Linked DNA regions of Homo sapiens: regions 2, 3 and 4 are each linked to region 1. Evidence: promoter capture Hi-C in human tissues and cell types (Jung and others, 2019). All regions are on one chromosome and are shown on one strand. The core of a region is centred on a gene start or on the middle of the fragment in contact, and the rest is flanking DNA. Distances in the headings are between cores, read along the strand shown. Region 1 holds the start of TTF1 (transcription termination factor 1). Region 2 has its middle 37 kb from the start of RAPGEF1. Region 3 holds the start of TSC1 (TSC complex subunit 1). Region 4 overlaps TSC1 (TSC complex subunit 1).

Region 1 (3,380 bases), core at 642-3,141:
AAGGTATTCCCATGATGAGGCAGTTTGGCCCTTGTTCTGGTGGAACGTGATGTTCCTGTCACTTTCTCCCAGCAGAATATGATAAGAGGCAGGCTGTTTCTCACTGCCTGAACCCCCGTGGAATGTTTCACTTTAAGCAAGGTCTGCAAAATGGCAGGGGGCTTACAAAATGGTGCAGTTTGGACTAACAGATTCACCCGTCCCCAGCACTGGTCACATTTTCTTGCTCTCTCTCTGTGAGCATGCACATACACACATTACAGAATCACCTGAAAAATATCTGTCAACACCATATTTAACCCTAAGTACGTCATCATGTAGCAAGGACATTCCCATGTGTAACTACAATGTCATTATCATGTCCGAAGATTTTAATGTGATACAATAGTGTTTAATATAAAATCCATTGCAAAGTTGAGACTCTGCATTTGAAAAAAAAAAAAAAAAGCTTCCCAGGTGATTGGTGCAGTTGGAGGAGGATTGGAAACCACTATTGGAGTTTTCCTGAATCGATACTGGATGATATCTAATCTCTCCTCTAGTGCCAGCCTTTTGTGGGTTCATTCATGCATCACTAGCACCACAAGGCTCTGGGTAAGTGGGGTCACCACAGAACACGTGACACCAATGACGGACCTGGACTTCAAGGCCTTCCATATCAACAGTGGACAACACCACATTTACAGACTTCTCCAGACGGAGCTCCAACTGCACGTCCACATCCCAGAGCAGCCCTTGCATGGCAACATGAGTACATACATAGGCTCATCGTTTCTCCAACCTGCTTCCCTTCCAGACTTTCACGGAAGCATAGTTTGTGCATTTTTTAATCAAAGCCACTTGGCAGATCACATAGAAGTCAGGTGGAACAGTGAGGGGCAAGATAGTGGAGTAGTAGAAAGAGCATAGGTCTGATTTCTGGCTGGCCCATTTAAGTCACCTTGGACAAGTTACTGTAAACCCAGGTTTCTCATCCACAAGGTGGGGCTAATAATACCTCATTACAAGGATTAAGTGAGAAAACTTGTTGCCTATATCGTATATGTTCACTATCCAAAAAGGTTAAACGTTTGGTTGGTAAATATAATGGCCTCGAATTGATGGCCAGGTTAAAGCTGCCCTTTTGGCTAAGTCTCTTCAGGACTCTGTTGAAATGGGAAGACTGGGATAGATCTCCAAAGCTCCTGCTAACTCTAAACTTCTGAGACTTCATCCAAGCTTAACATCCATCAGCCTCTGCACCAGATAGCCCCTGCAGACCTCTGACTTCCTCTCCCACCCCCTCCCCTGCATTCACATGCATTCACTTAGGCTGGGCGTGTGCGACCTGTCTGTCACCCTGTGGGTTCACTGTGTGGATTCACTCTGTGCTCCAGCTGCTCTGGCCTTGTCCCAGGTCCTCCAGCAACCAAGTTCAGGACTTTTGCACTCACTTCCAGCCTGGAACACTCTTCTGCCTAGATTTTTTGCCTGCCCTTTCCATTTAGAACTCAGTTCAAATGTCACCTCCTCAGTGAGCCCTCTCTTACATCTAAAGTAGCACCCACCGTCCCCTAGTCACTCTCCATCACGTCACCCTGTTTTATTTTCCTTACAAGATAATCTGAAATTATCTTAGTTGATTTGTCATCTGTCTTCCCAAGTTGTTCCTGGAGTTCACCAAAAACTGGAATAAATGGAATGCACGCATGCATTAGTACGTCAATGGAGGGGGATTCTGTCCTACTTTCTTCGTTTCAGGAGCACTCTCTACCCCACCTGACGTCTAAAGGACCCAGAAGGAAAATGGGTAGGCAAATGTGCGCGCCTCCAAGGCCTAGCGGCAGCCGTGTTACCATGGCAGCGTGACGCCGAGGGGGCCGGAAGGCGACGCACTACTACTTCCGCTTCCTCAACAGCAGCACTTCCGGGTTGGGAGAAAGGTGGCGGCGCTTTCGGAGGGTAAGTTGAAAGCGCCTTTGTTGTTTCTGTTTTTCAAAATGCGCGCGTAAAAACTCAGCGTGGGGTGGTGGGTTTCCCCGTCTTCTGGGAGACCCGCCTTTTGGCCTGAGGTCTCCAGGCCGCGGTCTTTGCCCCAGGCCTTATCTCGGGGAAACTGAGGCTTGGGTGTTTTTTTTTTTTTTTTTTAAAGATGGAGTTTTGCTCTTGTCGCCCAGGCTGGAGTGCGGTGGCGCGATCTCGGCTCACTGCAACCTCCGCTTCCTGGGTTCAAGCGATTCTCCTGCCTCAGCCTCCCGAGTAGCTGGGATTATAGGCGCCCGCCACCAAGCCTAGCTAATTTTTGTATTTTTAGTAGAGACAGGGTTTCACCATGTTGGCCAGGCTGGTCTCGAACTCCTGACTTCAGGTGATCCACCCGCCTCGGCCTCTCAAAGTGCTGGGATGACAAGCGTGAGCCACCGCGCCCGGCCGCGGCTTGGGTCTTTGGGAGTGAGAAGATGCAGAATTCACATCTGGTTAGTTCCTCCAGTCTCAGCCCTGGAGCGCCCACCCGGGAGCAGAGCGGGGTCTCTCTCGCACCCCAAAGGCGGTGAGAGAATCCGGGACCAGGTTTGGGCACGTACCTGCAGAGCGGGAAGTGTATGTTCTGAGTAAGGGGGGATAAATGCATATCCGTTCTCAATATGTATCGAGCACTGACTGGGGAGCCATTTGGGAGCAAGATGGCCAGGATTCCAGCCCTCAAGAAGCCGATCATATTATAACTGCCAAAAGTGCAATGGGGAGCAGCTGGTTGTTGGGAAACACTGTTAACCAGAAAGATGAGACCGGCTAAGGAGTTAGAGAGGTCCTCTTGAGAAAGTGGCTTTCATACTTGGACCAGTTAAAGGGCAGAAAGGTAATGCGGAGGAAGAGCTTTCCTGATGGAATGGGCTGTTTTTGCAAAGTTCCTGAGACGAAAAGGAAGGTAGTGTATTCTAGGAACTGAAAACAGCAGGGTTTCTGAAACCTAGAGAGAAGTGAGAGGTAGAGAGGTGGGCATGGACTTACCTCTGTCCATCTCTAGGCTAGATTATGAAGAAATGAAGACTCTTGCAGGTCTGTGAGGATTTTGACTTTATCTTAAGAATAACAGGGGAACCCTAAAAAGTTTTTAGCAGGGAGAGACTATATATTTAGAAGGTTGTACTGGGCTCCAGAGACCAGAGAGCAGCCTAGGAAGTATTTACAAAAAAGAAGGAAAGGAACTGATGGAAGGGGAAATGTTATTTAAAGAAATCAAGGCCGGGCGCTGTGGCTTACGCCTGTAATCCCAGCGCTTTGAGAGGCCGAGGCAGGTGGGTCACCTGAGGTCAGGAGTTCAAGACCAGCCTGGCCAACATGGCGAAACCCCGTCTCTACTAAAAATACAAAGATTAGCCAGGCTTGGTGGCTTGCGC
Region 2 (3,380 bases), core at 257-2,756, 630 kb after region 1:
AAGCGATCCTCCTGCCTCAGCCTCCCAAGTAGCTGGGATTACAGGCATGCACTACCACGCCAGGCTAATTTTTGTATTTTTAGCAGAGATGGGATTTCTCTATGTTAGCTAGGCTGGTCTTGACCCCCTGACCTCAAATGAGCTACCTGCCTCAGCCTACCAAAGTGCTGGGATTACAGGCACGTACCACTTTGCCTGGCCCCTTTGTCATCTTTTATCCCCTACCAGCCTAATAAGGTCACTCCCTGGGAAGGAGTGCTGGGATCTAGAACCCAGCATTCCCTGTTTGAACAGGCATCCCTGCATGAGGTCTAGGGAGCTGACACACTGCATCTATGTCTAGCTTCATGGCCCTGGAGAGCTGCAAGAACTCCAGGGGCAGCGGGCACCCAGCTGCCCCTCAAGCTGCTGAGCCTATCAGAAGGACACTGCACTGTTTCCTCCATTCACTCCTTCACCCAAGATAAGTTGATCAGGCAACTACTCTGGGGCAGGCCCTGTGCCAGGCACTCAGATGCAGCTGGAAAAGAGGCAGATGGGGCCCATGCCCTTGTAGGACTGGTGGTTTGGCAAGAGTTAGGTGTTAAGCACATAATCATTTAATTGCAGATGTGAAAAGTGTTCAGACAACATGGCATCTTTGAGAAAAGAGAGGCCTCATATGGTGCATTTTCTTTCCTTTTCTTGAGACACGGTCTTGTTTTTTACCCAAGCTGGAGTGCAGTGGCACGAACACAGCTCACAGCAGCCTCAACCTCTGGGGTGCAAGGGATCCTCTGGCTTCAGCCTCCACAAGTAGCTGGCACCATCACACTCCACTAATTTTTGTATTTTTTGTAGAGACGAGGTTTCACCTTGTTGCCCAGGCTGGTCTCAAACTTCTGGGCTCAAGCAATTCTCCTGCCTTGGCCTCCCAAAATGCTGAGACTACAGGTGTGAGCCACTGTGCCCTGGCGTATGGTGCATTTTCTAGATAACTGAAGGTACCTCCTTGAAGGAATGAAATATAAGTGGCTGGAAGAGGAAGAAGAGGGAGAAAATCAAGTCTCTCTGAAATGCACCGCTTATGTTCTCAGTTATCAGTTTCATGGTGCAGCCTTTGACCTGATGCATTCCTGCTCTGGGCTGTGAGGTGCTTCTACTGTTTTGGGCTCTCTCTGTTTTTTTGTGTGTGTGTTGTTGTTGTTGTTGTTTTCTTTTTTCTTCTTCTTTCTTTTTTTTTTTTTTTTTTTTTTTTGAGACGTAGTCTCTCTCTGTCTCCCAGGCTAGAGTGCAGTGGCACAATCTCAGCTCACTGCAACTACCGCCTCCCAGGTTCAAGCAATTTCCCTGCCTCAGCCTCCCAAGCAGCTGGGATTACAGGTGCACATCACCATGCCTGGCTAATTTTTGTATTTTTAGTAGAGAAGGGGTTTCACCATGTTGGACAGGCTGGTCTCGAACCCCTGACTTCAGTTGACTCACCCGCCTCGGCCTCCCAAAGTACTGTGATTATAGGCATGAGCCACTGCGCCTGACCTCTCTGGTTTGGTGTCACATCCCTTTCCTCACAGTCTGACCATTGGTACCACTTCTCCCGGGGGAAGGGACTTGGCTCTCGGAGTGTCACCTCTGCTGTTCTGCTACTGCACATCCTATGACTGGTCACCAGAAGGCCAGGTGGGAAACGTGTGCAGTCCCTCCCCTCTGGGGTGGGGACTCCAGGCCCAAGCTTCACCATGAACCCAGGCCTGGAGTCTCTCAGAGCCTGGGAGCTGTCCAGGGTCCTGCACCGCTTGAGGCCTGAGGTTCACATCCCGGCCTGCCCAATGGTGGATTGTGAGGCCCTGGGCAAGTCCTACCCTATTTCCGAGCCCCAGGCTCCCCGTCTGAAAGATGGGCAGGACAGATCAGATGGTCTCCAGGGCTCCTGCTGGCTGCCTTCTTAGATCCTTTATATCCCAAAAGGATTGTCATGGGTCTTGGGCTCTTTTCTGGACTGGACAGACGACACTTGAAGGACAGGGGGTCAGCACCAAGTACAGATCTGGGCAGAGTGGATGTCCCACAAAAATATTGGCATAAAGAGCCAGCAAGCCTGCTGCAGGGAGTGAGGGCCTCGCTGACATTCTCAAATGATGCCCGTGGTAGGGCTGGCACAGACCCAGTGGCTGAGGCCCAAGGCTGCAGGCTCCCCACAGGGATGTGCCATCCTGCCACTCCATGGGGAACTGCAGGCATTCTGTCCTTGTTCAGGGAGGGGAGGGAGCTGGGGCTGGCCTGGGACACCAGGAATGGCTCCTTTGCTGAATTCTTATGAGGCCCCCACGGCTGGGTGTTCTCATCTCTCAGGAGGTGGGCTGGGTGGGGCAGCCTTCAGACTTGCACTTGGGAATCTACCATCCCTGGGTTCAAGTTCCACTCTCTCTCTTGCTAACCAGAGGTTAGGTCTTGGGAAAGTGGCATAGCCTCCTGTAGCCTCCACTTTCTCAACCGCACAAAGGACACCCACTTCATGGGCTCATTGTGGTGCTAACAGATAATAGGACCCAGTGAAGTGCATACCATGCAGTAAGCATCCAACATGTAAGTGGTGGGTGTTAAAATTATTCAACTGATCAGTTAGTCTACTGGTTTCAAGGCTGGTCTTGGGGAATCCCCTTCTGAGAAGCAGGGAAGGGGCAGTGGACCTAATGGTCTCTCAAGTCCCTTTCAAGCTCACACTCTGTGACCTACATGAGCTGTTGCCCTCCTGTCACTCCTCCTTCTAGCCCTAGGCTGTGGCCCTCCAGAAGGCCAGGGTCACTCTGCCTCTGGTTGCCCAGCAAACAGAAAGTCCTCTGTCAGAACGGACCAGCCAAGTGGGCAGAGTTCCTCACTGGGGCAGAGCTGCACTGGGGGCAGGTGTGCAATCTGGGGCAGGTGGGAAGGTGGCAAGGACAGGTGATGCCACCGTAACAGAAGGAGGAAGTGGCAGGGAGGCCCCCACAGCCCCAAAAGTATAGGTCATTCTTCCCCCCAGGTCAGAGGTCATCCCTCCCTCAAGGTCAGGGATAGGGCCCAACTTTCAGATGAGCCAGGAAAGCTCGCTGGATGGAAGAGCTCATGGAGAGTTTAAATTAAAGAGCCTGGTGTTGCTTCTGAAAAACAAACAAACAAACAAACAAACAAAAAACCCTCTCTCTGCATTGATTCCCTTTGAAAAGTATTTAGTTCAACACAGAGGAGAGGGTTGGAGGAAACAGAAGCCGGGAAGGGGGAATCACAGACGGGCTGTGATGTGACATGCATGGGCAAGAGGCCTGGCTCCCTAAGTCTGCAGTGCCAGTGACCTGGCCCTGCCTCAGGTGGGATTTGCCTCCTAAAAGGTAGCCACATTCAAACAGAGCTGAGACCTCCCA
Region 3 (3,380 bases), core at 1-2,500, 540 kb before region 1:
CTCACCCAACACTTTTTTGCCCCTAGGCTCTTGCTCCTTTGGTTCCCTCTGCCTGGAATGGCCTTCTCTCCCGAGCCGCCTCGCCTGGTTCTATTAGGTTGATGCAAAAGTCATCGCGGTTTTAATGGTAAAAACCGTGATGACTTTTGCACCGACCTAGTATTTCACAAAACCTACATTTCCTTTAAAACCCAACCTGATGCCTACTCCTTCAAAATGCCTTTCATATCCCACAGTTCGACTTCATCTCACTCTGCCTCCTCTCACAGGGCTTTGTGTTCGTGCTGGATGGAGCCCATCATACTCAGCCTCGCAATAAAGGCCACCTATCTAGTGAGTGAGCATTTACTAGGCGCAGGACTCTGGGCTAAACGCTGTCCATACTTCATCTCCTTGATTCTTCACGTCACAGATGTCATTATGCCCATTTCACAGAGGAAGAAACTGAGGCTTGGAGGACTTAAAGCCTTGTTTCAGCAGGAAACGGAATAAGGCGTTCTGATTTTCAAGCTGTCTCCTATTAGGGCTGGTTTCCCCTAGATGTCATGAGTAGGTGTGAAGTGTGAGCTACTTGAAGGCAGAAGCCAGGGGGGTCCCCCGCAATCCCGGAGGCGGGCTTCTGAAAATGTTTAGCCCAGGAAGGAGGGCTGCCCTGGCCCGCAGCTTTCCGCCCCTTCCCAGGTGAGCTGCAACTCCAAAGCTCCCAAGCAGGCCCTTCACCCACGCGGGCCCCAGCAGCTCCTTGGGAAACAGGATCGCTGCTCTGAGGCCGCCCACAGAGAGACCCTCGGAGGGCGCCACGCAAGCGAAGGGCAGAAACGACTCGGGGGGCAGGGGCAGGGCGCTCCAACCACACCCAGGCGCCGCCAGCTTGTTTACGCCTCTCCGCCGCGTCCCCCCGCCCGCCAGTCACGTGACCGCCCGCCCCGCCCCCTCGGGCTCTCGCGTGGCTCCTCCCGCCGCGCCGGCCCTTCTTTTTGCCTCCTTCGCGGAGTCACAAGATCTCTTCGCAGCCTCCTTTCGGATCCTTCCGCCCGGCCCCGCCCCCCTCCATAAAAACCCTCCTTACTTTTTTTCTCGTCCAACCCACATCGTCAGTTATGAGTGGAAGAGCCTCTTCCTTCCGGCGGGGCTGCCGAGCGCGGCCGTCTATCCTTCCTTTCGAGAAGGAGGGGAGGTCCGGAGGGGGACTCTTTTTCGTGGCGGAGGCCGCCGTCGGCCTTGGCCCTTTCACGACGGGGGAGGTGCTGTACGTCCAAGATGGCGGCGCCCTGTAGGCTGGAGGGACTGTGAGGTAAACAGCTGAGGGGGAGGAGACGGTGGGTGAGTATGGGGGTGTCTCCCCCTCCTTTTTATGGGGGCTTCCTGGGGCAGCCCCGGCACCATGACTCCAGCCGGGGAGGCTCGGAGGGGCTGGAGCAAGAGACTCACTTGCTTGGTAGGGATCCCGGGGAAGGGGGGTTCGGAGAGCTCTCCCCTCCCTCTTATTACACGCTATCTCCGGCTGGCCCGGCCGGGACTGGCGGGTCCCTGGGGAGGAGAGGCGAGCCGGACGGAGCACTTCGCCCCTCCTTGGCCCCCGAGGGGACGGCTGCACCCTGGGCCTCGGTCCCTCGGGCAGGGGCGAGGTGGGCCCCTTCGTCAGTCCCTCACTTGGTGGGGTGACAGGTTCACGCTAGGTGCGGAGGGCAGGGTAGAGACGCTTGGCGGGAGGGGAAGGGTCGCGAGGGTGGGGCTGGTCCCAGAACTTAAAGAGAGGGGTCGGGGTATAGGGGCGTGGAGAATGAATGGAGGTCGCCTGTGGGGATCAAGGACTCGCCTGGATTCGGTGTCTCCGCTGAAATTTGCATGACTCGCTCTGGGTGTACTTGTGGGTGTTTAATTGGTGGTGAAAGACAGTTACCTTAAAGTGGGCAAAGGGGATTCCTAAGAGACAGCTATTTGCAGAGCCCCTCCTAGGCGTTCATTCATTCATTTGAGGAACTGGAGGATGAAGAGCCTGCAATCGGAGGGACCTTGTAGAATTAAAGCTCTTTCTTTGTGTTTCCTGTTAAAGAGTTTTGCTTTGTGTGTTTTGGATGTGTGGTGAGGACTTGGGAGGGGACGCGGTCCTCCTAAGAACAACAGCTAACGTTAATGGAGTGCTCTCTGTGTGCCAGGCACTGTGAAAGTGCTTGGCAGTCATTATCTCCTTTGGTCCTCACGACAAAGAGAAGAGGCAGCCACTGTTAACACCTCCAATCTTCTCAAATGAAGAAACTGAGGCCCGGAGAGAGCAGGGTACTTTGCCTAAGTTCACACCCCAATTGTATCTGAGCCAGGACTGGAACTGCTGGGATCTGACTGACTCCAAAGATATGACTCTTAAATTTATCTGTTATTTGATCAAAGCTGGCCTGTAAGTGATTAAAATTTATCATTTAGCCAAGGTTTATGCACGTGTGTCTGTTTAATGTTGAAGTGGGGGGATGCACTTGGCTTATCCGCCTTAGCTTTTGTTTGGGATGGCAGTGTTGTGCATGTGAACTTGTTAGTCTAAATTAGGCTAAAAAGTATTTGATAGTTTAATAAAACTGATGAGTTTACTGAAGAAAGAAGTCCTGCTAAAATCCTTGCTGGCTTTTTTTTTTTTTTAAATAGAAAGCATACAAATAACACTTCACGTTGCATAGAGTAAGCTATAAAAGTGCTAAAATAGAATAATACTCTTCTGAGATACTTTGATTTATAATTTTGGGATCAACTTGGAGTCATCTGAATTCAAACAGGCCGGCAAAGTGGAGCTGTAAATTTCAGGAAGCATTATAAAACCTAATCTTTGGGGAGCCTTTGATTTACCGAGCAACCACCTGTGATTCTTAAATTGAACATTCCTGAGTAAATCTGGAATATGCAAATGTGAAAACTGATTTAGGGTTGTGTAGGGAAATGCACCTTTAACAGTCATGCATCAGGCAAATGAGGCTCCTCAGAAACAGTGAAACATTCTTTGCTATTGCCCTAGGGAGCTGCAGAATCTTCCTCTAACCACCTGGTGTAAACTTAAGGGGTATTTATAGAAGATGTAAACGGAAAATATCCTCTTACTAAAGTTAATATCTTATCCAAAACACTCTTATATCACGTGCCTAGAAGGGCAGATGATGTAAACTTTCTCTGCTGCATGCATTTCCTGGTGTCATAAACACTTGGTACGTTCCTAAATTCCTGGTTAGAAAGCAGGTGGCTACCAGCCTTCTTGTTTCCATAAAATTAGAGTGCTTCAGGTCCTGTGACTCAGTTGTCCTCTTCCTCACTGGGTTAAGAGTAAAAACTGATACTGCTACTGTTGTGGTGTAATATGATGCCTTCTGTGCATGCCTGGTTTCATTCGTGAGATG
Region 4 (3,141 bases), core at 642-3,141, 520 kb before region 1:
GTTTTCATCTTCTGAAAAGTTTTTTAAACACCCAAAGAGAGTATCTATATGTGTTTTAAACTTTCAATTATGGAAATACTCAAGTATGCACACACATGAAGTAAGAATCATGCAGTGAACCCCATGAATCCAGTTTCAAATTCTTTCCTCCCTGACTCTCCCACCCTCCAAATATTTTAAAGCAAATTCCAGATGTTGCTTTAACTGTAAATCATATATGTGGTTTTTAATATGAAAAGTGCTTAACCTCTTTTTAATATGAGAAATACAAATTTAAATAGTACCCTTTTTTGCTTACCAGGTTGGCAAAATTAAATATTGAATATAGAAATGGGCACTGTTAGCAGGAATATGAATTGATGTTCAGCCTTTTGGAGCATCAGTCATCAATTTTAAAACACATACCATTTGGGCCATTTATAAGAATCTGTATCTTATTACAGCTTTGAGTGAAATACAGTGAAGAATTGGAAAAACCCAAGTATCCTTCAGTAGGTGAATGGTTAAATTAGTTATGTAGAGCCATGCAGTGGAACACTAGGAGGACGGAAAGAAATGAAATAGGCCATAGATGCTGACGTGGGAAGGTGGTTACAACATACTGTTCAGTGGAAAAAACACACACATGCACAAACTGTGTCTGTGTCTGTGGACATGAGGGCTGTGTGCGTGTGGTTATACAAGTAGAAAAGGGTTTGAAGAGACACACTCTAAACTTAAGGGTGTTTATCTGTGAAGAGTGGGTTGGGAGGCAGGTGGTGAGGAGCACTTTCATTTTTATTTTATGTACTTTTACATAGCCTGAATGTTTAACAGTAGATATGGATTATTTTTTGTAATTAAAAAAGCAATAAAGGGCCAGGTGTGGCGGCTCACGCCTGTAATCCCAGCACTTGGGGAGGCCGAGGCGGGCGGATCACAAGGTCAGGAGATTGAGACCATGTTGGCCAATGTGGTGAAACCCCATCTCTAGTAAAAATACAAAAATTAGCCAGGCGTGGTGGCAGGTGCCTGTAATCCCAGCTAGCTACTTGGGAGGCTGAGGCACGAGAATTGCTTGAACCCAGGAGGCAGAGGTTGCAGTGAGCTGAGATTGTGCCACTGCACTCCAGCCTGGCAACAGAGTGAGACTCCATCTCAAAAAAAAAAAAAAAAAAAAGGCAATAAAAATGACTTCATATGTTTTTATGCATATTTAGGCAAATAAGCTTGGAATATCTTATTATTAAATTAAGAAGGCAGAACTGTAATGCTGCACAAAACTTAGAATAGCATATAAAGAAACATTTTCTGGATTTTGTGACAGGAAGCTGTGTAAGGTAAATTTAGGATGTTAAGGGGAATAAGTATCATCCATTGCCCTTTTCTTGATTTAGACCGTGGCCCTATGCTTGTAAACACCTTGGTGGATTATTACCTGGAAACCAGCTCTCAGCCGGCATTGCACATCCTGACCACCTTGCAAGAGCCACATGACAAGGTAATGGCTGAAATATCATAGGCATTTCATATGTTCTTCATGAGTACAACAGCTTCTGTGCACGGCCACTGTGCAACTTGTCCTGAGCTTATTCTTTTGATTTCTGTGCGCCACTGATGACATTGTTCCCAGTTTATAACTACATATAAAAATTACTTTGTAGGACCCATGATTCTTGAAAAGTTTACAAAATAAAACATATTTCAGAGACTGTTAAAGATCTTGTTTGGGCCGGGTGTGGTGGCTCACGCCTGTAATCCCCTTAGGAGGCCGAGGCGGGTGGATTGCCTGAGGTCACGAGTTTGAGACCAGCCTGGCCAACACAGTGAAACCCCGTCTCTACTAAAAAATACAAAAAATTAGCTGGGCGTGGTGGTGGACACCTATAATCTCAGCTACTCAGGAAGCTGAGGCAGGAGAATCGCTTGAACCTGGGAGGCGGAGGTTGCAGTGACCTGAGATTGCACCATTGCACTCCAGGGCAACAAGAGTGAAACTGTCTCAAAAAAAAAAAAGATCTTGTTTAAAGAAATCTTACATTTCCAGTACTATAATTGTATAGTGATGATTTGGCCCATAGGTACCCATCTTTCAACCCATACTTTGAATAGAATTTTTAGACTTTTATCGATATGGAAAAGCTTCAAGTACAAAGGACTAACATGACAAATTAATGAGTCTTGTTTCCTAGCACCCGGCACTTGGAGGGCTCCTTCATGTTTTCCTTTTGTTTTTAGTAAGTAGCTAATAAAGCATTGTTATTGCAGACTTTGGTAAGTCTTAAGTGTATATATGAGAGCAACTTCCCCAGGATTTGAAGACCTTGTATTGCATGCCTTTTACAGTACATCTTGTTTTGTTTTGTTTTCTAAAGAGGTGAGGTCTCATTGTGTTCCCTAGACTGGAGCGTGGTGGCACAATCATAGCTCACTGTAACCTTGAACTCCTGGCCTCAAGCTATCCTCCTGCCTCAGCCTCCCAAAGTGCAGGGATTGCCGGCATGAGCCACTGCGCCTGGCCCGTCTTGTTTTTTTGTTTACTCTGGTCTGAAATGTAACTTCTACTACCTAATTGATACTTGAGGCCAAACCATGTAGGCTGGGTTGCTCTAGCAATAAGTGGCTGCTTCCAGCAGGATCCCCTCATGGCTTCAGTAACCTATCACAGTTTGGGACTGTTGGTTATTGAGGGGCTGTGAACAAGTCTCCCCCTTTCTGCATGCGTGTATTGTAGGGTCCTTTTTCATGAGCTGCAAACTGGCTGCCTTTTGTCAGGCCAAATGCAGCAGTGTTTTGTTTGCTAACGTGGTTTTTAAAATCTTGAATTTGACCTTTTATCTGCATGACCCTTGCTTTACATTAGAGACAAGACTTGAGAGATTGGAGCACATCATTGCTGTCTTTATTTGTGTTAACTTCATACATTCATGTGAGGACTGCCCTTGTTCTTTTACATTTTCAGCACCTCTTGGACAGGATTAACGAATATGTGGGCAAAGCCGCCACTCGTTTATCCATCCTCTCGTTACTGGGTCATGTCATAAGACTGCAGCCATCTTGGAAGCATAAGCTCTCTCAAGCACCTCTTTTGCCTTCTTTACTAAAATGTCTCAAGGTAGGATGTTTGTAAGGATTTGAATGAAATGGTTTTATGAGTATAGT

The links. The method cuts DNA at HindIII sites, captures the fragments that hold promoters and counts their contacts. A contact is called where the count stands out against the background at its distance.
Region 2: a contact is called between a fragment that was not itself captured here and the fragment with the promoter of TTF1 in region 1, in 2 of the 25 tissues and cell types used here (lymphoblastoid cells and mesenchymal stem cells).
Region 3: a contact is called between the fragment with the promoter of TSC1 here and the fragment with the promoter of TTF1 in region 1, in 1 of the 25 tissues and cell types used here (lymphoblastoid cells).
Region 4: a fragment that was not itself captured here is called in contact with the fragment with the promoter of TTF1 in region 1 in 1 of the 25 tissues and cell types used here (mesenchymal stem cells).

The regions. Positions count from the first base shown.
Region 1 is chr9:132,405,351-132,408,730 of GRCh38, reverse strand. It overlaps TTF1 (transcription termination factor 1), which reads left to right and starts at 1,891. Exons shown (of 11, transcript NM_007344.4): 1 at 1,891-1,941. The HindIII fragment of the contact is 7,318 bases long and covers 834-3,380 here.
Region 2 is chr9:131,775,054-131,778,433 of GRCh38, reverse strand. No RefSeq gene overlaps it. Among named protein-coding and RNA genes, the nearest start is that of RAPGEF1, 37 kb to the right of the region's middle. The HindIII fragment of the contact is 5,957 bases long and covers 1-3,380 here.
Region 3 is chr9:132,942,486-132,945,865 of GRCh38, reverse strand. It overlaps TSC1 (TSC complex subunit 1), which reads left to right and starts at 1,250. Exons shown (of 23, transcript NM_000368.5): 1 at 1,250-1,323. MIR548AW (microRNA 548aw) reads right to left here and starts at 159; the gene lies at 95-159. It also overlaps a transcript of GFI1B not described here. RefSeq lists enhancers at 533-672, 1,033-1,332, 645-1,378 and silencers at 853-932, 1,463-1,522, 1,583-1,642. The HindIII fragment of the contact is 11,354 bases long and covers 1-3,380 here.
Region 4 is chr9:132,925,540-132,928,680 of GRCh38, reverse strand. It overlaps TSC1 (TSC complex subunit 1), which reads left to right. Exons shown (of 23, transcript NM_000368.5): 4 at 1,377-1,480; 5 at 2,942-3,094. Among named protein-coding and RNA genes, the nearest start is that of TSC1, 18 kb to the left of the region's middle. The HindIII fragment of the contact is 3,992 bases long and covers 1-3,141 here.